Regions from separate parts of the Homo sapiens genome. Here region 1 is linked to region 2. Evidence: promoter capture Hi-C in 16 types of primary human blood cells and fetal thymus (Javierre and others, 2016). All regions are on one chromosome and are shown on one strand. Each heading gives the region's core, a stretch centred on a gene start or on the middle of the fragment in contact. The rest is flanking DNA. Distances are from core to core; before and after follow the strand shown. Region 1 overlaps DMD (dystrophin). Region 2 holds the start of GK (glycerol kinase).

Region 1 (4,747 bases), core at 67-2,566, 590 kb after region 2:
CTCATTCTCTCGCCCAGGCTGGAATGCAGTGGCATGATCTCGGCTCACTGCAACCTCTGCCTCCTGGGTTCAAGTGATGCTTGTGCCTCAGCCTCCCAAGTAGCTGGTATTACAGGTGCCCACCACCACGCCCAGCTAATTTTCATATTTTTAGTAGAGATGAGGTTTCACCATGCTGGCCAGGCTGGTCTCGAACTCCCGACCTCAAGTGATCTGCCTGCCTTGGCCTCCCAAAGTGCTGAGATTACAGGCGTGAACTATTGTGCCCAGCCTTGAAAAGACTCTTCTTTATCACCTCAAAACTATGCTGCATTTGGGAGTTGCTTGATATAAAGCTTTACCAATTTGAAGATTCAATCCAAGAATCGGGCAGACTCTGAGTTCCTCTGCCCACCTCATGGATGGCCCTGAAGTCACAGGAGTGAGTTTGCCTTCTTTCTCCTCTCAGTGGCAATGACCACGGATTCCTTGTCTTTTGGATTGCCTCCTACTTCATAGCAGACAGGGCTCATTCCCCCTTTCTCTGCCTCTCTGTTTCTCTCACTTCTCACCTCAGCTTTCTTTTCAACACACTGGATCTGACCCAGCTTTTATTCTCCTCAGAATCCTGGACAAAACTACTTGAGGATAAACCTAAAGCAGCCCTTTTTTCCTAAGATGTAGGTGACTCTTACTTCAGCTCTTTTTGTATGCAAGTATTCCCTGTAGAGCCAAAGAGAAAAACGGAAGTGACAGGCCGATGGCAGAAGGAATACTAACATTCGCTGAGCACTCAAGGGCAAATGTCGTGTGTACCTGATACCATCGAGTCCTTACAAGGCCCTGAGTTCTGTATTATCAGCTTTGTTAAAGATAAAATGAGGCTCACAAATGTTTGGTAACTTCCCTACGGTTGCATCCCAGAGCCTGCATTCAAGACCAAATCTTTCTGACACTCAAAGCCTCTGATGGCCTTCCCCGCTTCTCCGCTACAGAACAAATGTCTTTCCTTACCCAGTGTAATCCTAATTAGCACAAGGGTGAATGGGCAGTAGTACCCTCAGAAGAACCATGATACCGGGCAAGGAGCAGAGGGTATGGGGTGAGGCAGAAACCCTTGCACAAGGACCACAGGGAGGGAAACTGACCAGTCAATGGGATGAGGGAGTGACCAGGAATGTAACTAGACCAATAATGATGAAGTTCCCAGTCCTCCTTATCTAGAGAAGTTTGCTGAATAATCAACACCTGCAGTACGAGTTTCTACCATTTTTCCTACAAAAGTTTTTTGCTCCCATAGAAACATACAGCTGCTTTCTATTTACATGGTGCAGTATATCAGGCACTCTGAGGGTTAACTAAGATTCTGTGACTTAGGGACCTAACCACCATTTATAACACATTTCATTCCAAATTGTATGCAACTGACTTACAAATAAACTTGGAACAGAGCCCGAGGGTAAGTTTGGAAAGGCCTAAATCTTGTCTCAAGGTGGGAATGTGGTTCTTGCCTGACTGCTGAGAAATTTAATGGTTACTGGGCAACCAGGAATTAAATAATTTGGGAAATTTTAACTCTACCTTTTTCTTATGAGTATTCTTTAGGGGAATATATATACTTTTTATTAAGAAAATGAAATACATGGTGCCTTAGAAATAGAATCTCTAATTTAAAATTTTCATTTTCCAAATGAGAGAACTAAGGACTAGAAAGCTCTTAGTAACTTGTTCTGAATTCCCTAGTCAGCTAGGAGAAAAACATCAACTAGAATCCAAGTCTTTTTCTCCCCAAGTGTGTATCCCTTCCCTGAGCAAGCCACAGAACAAAAATATAAAGGCTCATTCTAAGTGGGACTTCAAGTCTACTCATTCAGCTTAAGGGCTCCCAATTGCTCCCAATTCGAACAGAGGGCCCGTGAATTTCTTTAACCTTGACAAACATCTGACTGGAAAACAAATTTTCCCAAAAGCAAGCAGGGTCTAATTTTCCCCTGTTAAGAGTGGTTTCTAGACCTTGGCATCTTCTTAAATTTTTAAGATTCAGCTCCTCCTAACCCGCTCTGACATATAAAGTCATAGTGTTGTGAAGCAGACTGTGTTATAGAAGGAAGTCAGGAAGTAAGGATGTGAACATTTCTTTTAAAGAGTAGCAGCAGCCTCCATCCTGAATGAAGAAGCCAGGTCTCAGACACTCCCTTAGACGTGCCGCCTTTAAGAAAGGACATCCTCTCTGTACTTCTGATGATCAGCTTAATTTCCCATTTGAATAATGATTTTTTTGTTTGCTTCTGAAGTCATGAGAAGCAGTTAGCATTTATGAAGCTTTGAATGGTTGTCCAATTTGACTTAAAGGCCACGAGATGCTGATGTTAAACTTCGTACATTTATTTCTGGGTTCCTGTCTTATTAAAACACTGACATAACTCTCCATAGTGCAAGTTTTCATTCACCATCTGTCAGTCTATTGCGCTACAGGAAAAAAAAAACTCCAGGTTAATTATGTAAAAGGTAATAGCATCAAAGAACAGAACATTGTGCCTATTATACTCTCAATGTGCAAAAATGGGCATATTTTTATGTGTATGTTTGTATATGCAAAAATATTTACAGAAGCAAACATAAAAACTATACTGTTAATTGTCTCTAGGAAGTAAAATTAGGGGATTGATACCAAGAGTGGTTGGAGACTTACTTTTCAATACTATCCTCTTACAATGTTTGATTTCTTAAAGTCATGTGCACTTTTTTTAATGATTGAGTATTAAATCTATCTATCTTCTTTTCAAGATTTCTCTATCTGGGATTTCTTCCAAATTCTTAGCTTCACCCGCTGTCCTTCAGGAGAGTACTATTGTACAATGGAAAAACTACTGGGTAGAGAAGAAAACTTAATGGGCTCTATTTATGTCTTTGCTGTAAAATAATAGTAATAATGGTTATCATTTATTAGGTGCTTACCCTATGTTTGCAATAAATAACATAAATTCTCAGGTTATCATTTATTAGGTGCTTACCCTATGTTTGCAATAAATAACATAAATTCTCATATAATTACCTTCAACTGTGATATCATTATTTCAATCCCATTTTATAAATAAGGAAACCAAAGGCCTAAGAAGTAAAATTCAAATCCATTTGACCCTAAAGCCCTTCCTCTTCATCACTATGGTCTCCCAATAAGCTTGGTCTAGTAACCTTAACTTTCCTAAGCTTCATTTTTTTTTTGTTCATTTTTAAAGGGAACAGTAATAGTACCTATTCCTAGGGCTGTTGCAAAACTAAGAGAGATAGTGTATCTCAAAAGCTCCAAAGAGGAGATGTATCTTGGATATATACTTGCTCAGTAAAAGTTAGGAACCTTTCTCTGCCCCTGTACTTCTTGTTATAAAGTATAATAAAAGTGCAAGTAATATTTTTATCATGCTGTGGACCAAACTCTTTCTTCGGTTCCCCTTTTCAAATGGCTTTAGAGTATTTCCTCTTCAAAATGCCACTGTCCCCTCTCAGGAAGAAAGTATAGCTGAGGGGCTAAATCGCTGGTTTAGGAGTTAAAAGTACACGTAAATCCCTGCTTTGCAATGTGAGAAAATTACCTATTTTCTCTGAGCCTCATCTGCACAATGGAGATACAAATATCTTTTACAGGGTTTTTGAAAGGATTAATGAGAAATATATGCTTATGGTATGGCAGCACATACATTTATATGAGCCACCAAAAATAAATTTTTCTAAGAAGAGAAATTGTAAATAAACCCATAAGTATGTAATTCAATCAAATTCATATCTATTCCCTGTTGCTCCGCTCAGTTTGCAATTTCCTCTTTTCCTCAATGGTATCACCATTCTCTGTGTCACCACGCCTTCAAATTTTGAAGACATATAACTCCCTTTTTCTTTAAAACCTGTCCAATCTGTGATTACCTTCTGGCAATTCTACCTTGTTAAGAAAAACCTCTGGAGTCACGTTCCCTTTTCCTTCCCCCATTGCTATCCTAAGACCCTCATCATGTCAATTACCTCAAAACAAAACGAAATAATCTCTCCCCTCTCTAACTGTCCTTAAACTCACCCACCAAATTCCTATTCCAAAACACAGAAGACGGACTTCATTATTTCTCTTTTCTGAAGATTTAACAATGTTTTTCCCATTGCCAATCAAATGCAATGTAAATTTCTCACTCTATAATTTAAGGCACTTAGTTCACCCCAGGGGCACTGAATCAGATTTCCCTTTTAAAAATCTGGAGTGGCCAGGCGCGGTGGCTCATTCTTGTAATCCCAGCACTTTAGGAAGCCGAGATGGGCAGATGGCTTGAGCTCAAGAGTTGAGAACAGCCTGGATAACATGGCAAAACCCTGTCTCTACCAAAAATACAAAAATTAGCCAGGTATGGCGGTGTGTGCCTGTAGTCCCAGCTGCCTGGGGGGCTGAGGCAGGAGAATCACTTGAGCCCAGGAGGTTGTGGCACCAGTGAGCCATGTTCGCACCACTGCACCCCAGCCTGGGCGACAAAGTGAGACCCTGTCTCAAAAAGCAAAAAAAAAAAAAAAAAAAAAAAAAAAAATCTGGAGTAGATTCTCAGAGAACAATGTCTTCACTGACTCGCAAACAAGCCAGTCTTTCATACCTTTGTTTATGCTGCTACACTATCTGGAATATCTTGGCCCTACATTTTACTTTACCTGAGTATTACAAAATTTCTTCCTAGAACAATGTTTTTTTCCACTCTCCAAACAACTCTCCCTAATTATTCTAATTAATACTGCT
Region 2 (4,684 bases), core at 1,691-4,190:
CCACAGGAGGCTGGCTAGTCTTAAGATGTATGTCACTTATGCGCTCTTGGCCTCAGAGGCCCCATTGTTATTAATACTTCCAACTCTGTCTCAATTATAGTAAGAAAAATGGAATCAGAGTGTCTATTGGTTGATTTTTACAATTATATAAAGGTTTTGGACAATAGCTGGGGCTTGAGGGAGTGAGAAAAGTCAAGCAAAAGGGGATTTGTCCCTCTGGGGATTAATTCCAGGACGACCCCACCCCCGCCGCCCTCACCACACACACTCACCCTCCCTACCCCGAGGATACAAAAATCCGAGAATGCTCAAATGCCTTATATAAAATGGCATAGTATTTGCATGTAACCTATGCACATCCTCCAGTAAATTTAAATCATCTTTAGATTAACTATAACACCTAATACAATGTAAATGCTATGAAAATAGTTGTTACATGGTATTGTTTTTATTTGTATTGTTTGTTATTGTTGTATTGACATTTTTTCAAATATTTTTGATCTGCGGTTGGCTGAATCCTTGGATAAGAGACCCTCACATATGGAAGGCTGACTGTAATTCTAAAAAAATAAGACAAAGTGGACTTATAAGAATTCACAGTAGGCCGGTCGCAGTGGCTCACGCCTGTAATCCCAGCACTTTGAGAGTCCAAGGCGGGCGGATCACGAGGTCAGGAGTTCGAGACCAGCCTGCCCAGCATGGTGAAACCCCATCTCTACTAAAAATACAACAAATTAGCCGGGCATGGTGGCGCGGGCCTGTAGTCCCAGCTACTTGGGAGGCTGACGCAGGGGAATTGCTTGAACCAGGCAGGTGGAGGTTGCAGTGAGCCAAGATTGCACCACTGCACTCCAGCCTGGGCGAAAGAGCAAGACTCCAACTCAAAAAAAAAAAAAAAAAAAAAAAAAAAGTTCACAGTAAATATTTAAGATAGGCTGAGCTCAACTCTTCCATCTAACACCTTTCCCCTTATCTTTACCTCATCTCTAACAGGGTGCTGAGATGTGACGCCTGAAAGGCCAATATTTTGGCTTTTCAGTTTTGTTTTGGTGAAAGGAATGAGGATGTGGAATACACATTGTTGTAGGAACCATAGGATCAACAAATTTAAGAATCCCCCATGTACATCTAGCCCAACTTATTCTGAAATGTCTGAATTCTGATCCCATTGTGCTGCCAAACAAATAATTTGCTGTCCTGTTGGAATCTGAGAGTCAAAAGTATGTGAAAGTTCAAACGTGGTCAGGGATTTTTTTTTTTTAATGGATCGATGTGGTAGGTTTGGTGGCTTTGTTTTTACTGCCTTCTAGAACCAAGAAAATCCTTTTCTATATCATTCACTCAACTAATGCCTTTCACTGTTTTTAGAGGCAAGTTGGCCTGGTTCCTTGCTTATATGCCTGTCTCCCTCTTTTCCTCTTCCAGGAAATTCAGAGATACTGACTCATCTTCACTCTTATATTAAAGCAAGCCAGTTTATCGATAGTTATTAAATCTAGTATGTCCATAAGCAGGCTTCATCTGGAACATTAGAATGTGAGGTCTAGACGGTGTTTAGGAAAATTTGCTTTCAGATCATGTGTGGTAAAACTATACAAACAGAGATGGACAAGTGACGTGGTGTAGAGCAAGGTAAGAAAGGAAAAAAAAAAAAAAGGAAAAGAAATGATGTTCCAGAACACAGAGATTTGGGAAAGGGATGGAAAGAAATGACAGTGGGTATAGCGGAGTGCTTTTAAAATTGATAGAGAGCATGGTGGGTTACAAAAGCAATTTAGTGATTTTCAATCAGCATTAAAAAAAAATGATATGCCATAGAATAAAAATACAGAATGCATACTGTGGAAGGACAAATATTGTTTTGGAAAGTTTTTCTATACATACATAAATGTATATTAGATGTATATAACATGTATTTACATGTGTAACAATTGTAACTACAAATGTGCTCCCCGCCCACACACACTGGAGCCTGGGTTTGTTTTGTAAACTGTTTCACAGTGTGGGTCTTGGTTCCAAGTTTGAAAGCCCTTAGAACACAGGATCCAGAAGGATCCGGGCAAGGTAAATTCAAGGTCAAGGGAGAGTCCCTTTTCTGTCCCCTGCCATCCAAAGCAGTTAATGGAGGGAGAGGAAATGGCGTGTGGGGGAGGGGACCGCAGAGTGAGGCCAAACGAGGAGCAAGGGCGCGTCAGGACGGAGTGGTGCCGGGCGCCTTCTGCCTGAATGGTCGATAGAGGAACTTGGGGAGGTTGATTTTGGGTGCTTTCCTTAAATGCTAAACCGAAAGAACTTCCGCGTTTCTTGTCCCTGAAAAGCTTGCAACGGTGAAGGATTCGCGTTGCTCCTTGAGGTGACCCTATATGGGGTCAATCCCAGCCAAAGGAATGATTACGATTACCAGGGGCCAGATGCAGGGAGGTGGGCGGGGCGTGGGAAACGCGGGAAGGCCGGGCCGGGTAGGTCCACACAGCGACTCACGTCGCTGCACGACTCTGCACAGCCCACTGGAGGGAACAAGCAGTTCTACACACTTTGAGACCCCTATGGAGGCGAGCCCCAGGACACTAGTGGAAGTGCGCTCTTTTCGCCGGCCAGGAGCGCTGCCTGCCAAAGGGCAGTACTCGTCTCCGCCCCATGCCATGCAGCTGGATGGCTCTGCTGTCCGCTCGCCGGGCCCCCACGTGACCTACTGCGCGGGCCGCCGCCTCCACCGCGCCCAGGCCCCGCCCCCGTGACGTCTCATCGCCCTCTGCCTGTCCGAGCGTTCGGCTCTTTTGCGTTTGCTGATTGGCCAGCCCAGGTGACAGCGCCCACCCCCACCCCCCCTGACACGCCCCTGGAGCCTTGGGGGTACGCGGTGGGGGGCGGGGCCTGGGCCGGAGGGGCGGGGTGAGAAGGCTGCGCGCGGGTAAAGGGGCCGCCTCGAGCGCGGTCCGAGCGTTCAGCGGACGCGCGCGGCCTCGATCTCTGGACTCGTCACCTGCCCCTCCCCCTCCCGCCGCCGTCACCCAGGAAACCGGCCGCAATCGCCGGCCGACCTGAAGCTGGTTTCATGGCAGCCTCAAAGAAGGCAGTTTTGGGGCCATTGGTGGGGGCGGTGGACCAGGGCACCAGTTCGACGCGCTTTTTGGTGAGCCCGGGGTGACATGTGAAGAGGCGCTGAGCCGGGGCGGGAGTCGGGGGACGGAGGGGGTGGCTGTTGTGTCCCCATCCCGCATCTCTCCGGCCCGGTGCCCCGGCCGCTGGGCAAGGAGGGAGGCCGGAACGGGACCTGCCACACTGGGGATGCCCCAGCCAGGCCTGGGGGACCTCGGCCTCTCATGACCCCCATGGCCGAGTTGAACAGTCGCAGTTTTGGTGGCGGAGCTGGGTCACCTACTAATGGGGTGACTCTTCCCCCAAAGGGAGCAGGGACTCTCCGAGCATCCGCGCAGAGCGGCCCGCTTGCAGTAGGGGACAGGTGGCCACATTGACGGCTACCGCGGTCTTCCCCAGGAACATTTGGCCTGCGAGACACAGGACGTCCTTGGATGGGGGGAAAGCTGTGTCACGGCTGTGGTAGCTAACACAGCGTCCTTTCCAGCAGTAGAACGAATAAAGTATTGGAGTGATGATGCGTTGTCATCCTCTCCCATAAAAATTGCAGAGGGTTGAATACTGGGGAGGGTGGCAGAACAAATTAGGAAACAGTCACACTACACTGGTTTTGCCATAATCTTTATTTAATTCCGAAGACTCGCAAATTTCAGTTCTGAGACTTTGCCCATTACAAACAAATGATTGTCCTTACTGTGCTTCACAGCATAATGCGACACGGAAATTCTGTTTCTCTTTTTATTTACCATGTGTGACAGCACAGTTTTACCACAAAAGATTGCTATTTAAGTGACTGCTGATTAATTTTTGTGCAATTAGTAAACTTGCTCTTAAAGTGACCTAGCACAGAGTTCAGTAAGATAATTTAAAAGTAATTGAGGCCGGGCGCGGTGGCTTACACGTGTAATCCCAACAGTTTGGGAGGCTGAGGCGGGTGGATTACCTAAGGTCAGGAGTTCGAGACCAGCCTGGCCAACCTGGCATAACAAAAATTAGCTGGGCGTGGTGGCGGGCGCCTGTAATCCTACTTACCCGGGAGGCTGAGGCAGGAGAATCACTTGGACCCGGGAGGCGGAGGTTGCAGTGAGCAGAGATCACACCACTGCACTCCAGCCTGGGCAATCCAGCCTAGCCAACAGAGCGAGACTCTGTCTCAAAAAAATAAAAATAAATAAAAAATAAATAAAAGTAATTGAAATGAATGCCTGCTGATAAAAGCCCATGCTTTCAATGGATATTTGACTAACTTGGCAAGTTGATGTAAATATTTAATGATTATTTAGCTCTTCACTTTACCGCAAATCATGTTTTCCTGTGTTATTTAGTATGTATATATCTGTACATATATACACATATGTGTATATTTATACATAGGCATTATACATACAATGTATATATTTTTTCAAAGTTCTGTCAGAGCTGGCACTTGACTAAAAACTGCATTTGTGCTTTGATCCTGACATATCTTTTTTTGTCTAAAGTGAGAAGCTTTCAGTCTAATTTTGGTTTGAATCTTATTTAATGACTTACCCTGGTTTGAGCTGCCAAGCATAGTTCCACTGTCTCTTGCACTGTTTATCTTTTG

Evidence for each region. Contacts are between HindIII fragments. The CHiCAGO score rates a contact against its expected background, and 5 or more counts as called.
Region 1: a contact is called between a fragment that was not itself captured here and the fragment with the promoter of GK in region 2, in 1 of 17 cell types (total B cells). The highest score is 5.1, in total B cells.

What each region holds. Positions count from the first base shown.
Region 1 is chrX:31,237,748-31,242,494 of GRCh38, forward strand. The region is part of intron 63 of DMD (dystrophin); the gene reads right to left. Among named protein-coding and RNA genes, the nearest start is that of FTHL17, 170 kb to the left of the region's middle. The HindIII fragment of the contact is 1,966 bases long and covers 334-2,299 here.
Region 2 is chrX:30,650,483-30,655,166 of GRCh38, forward strand. It overlaps GK (glycerol kinase), which reads left to right and starts at 2,941. Exons shown (of 21, transcript NM_001205019.2): 1 at 2,941-3,133. The coding sequence starts at 3,056. RefSeq lists a silencer at 2,611-3,030. The HindIII fragment of the contact is 2,269 bases long and covers 2,317-4,585 here.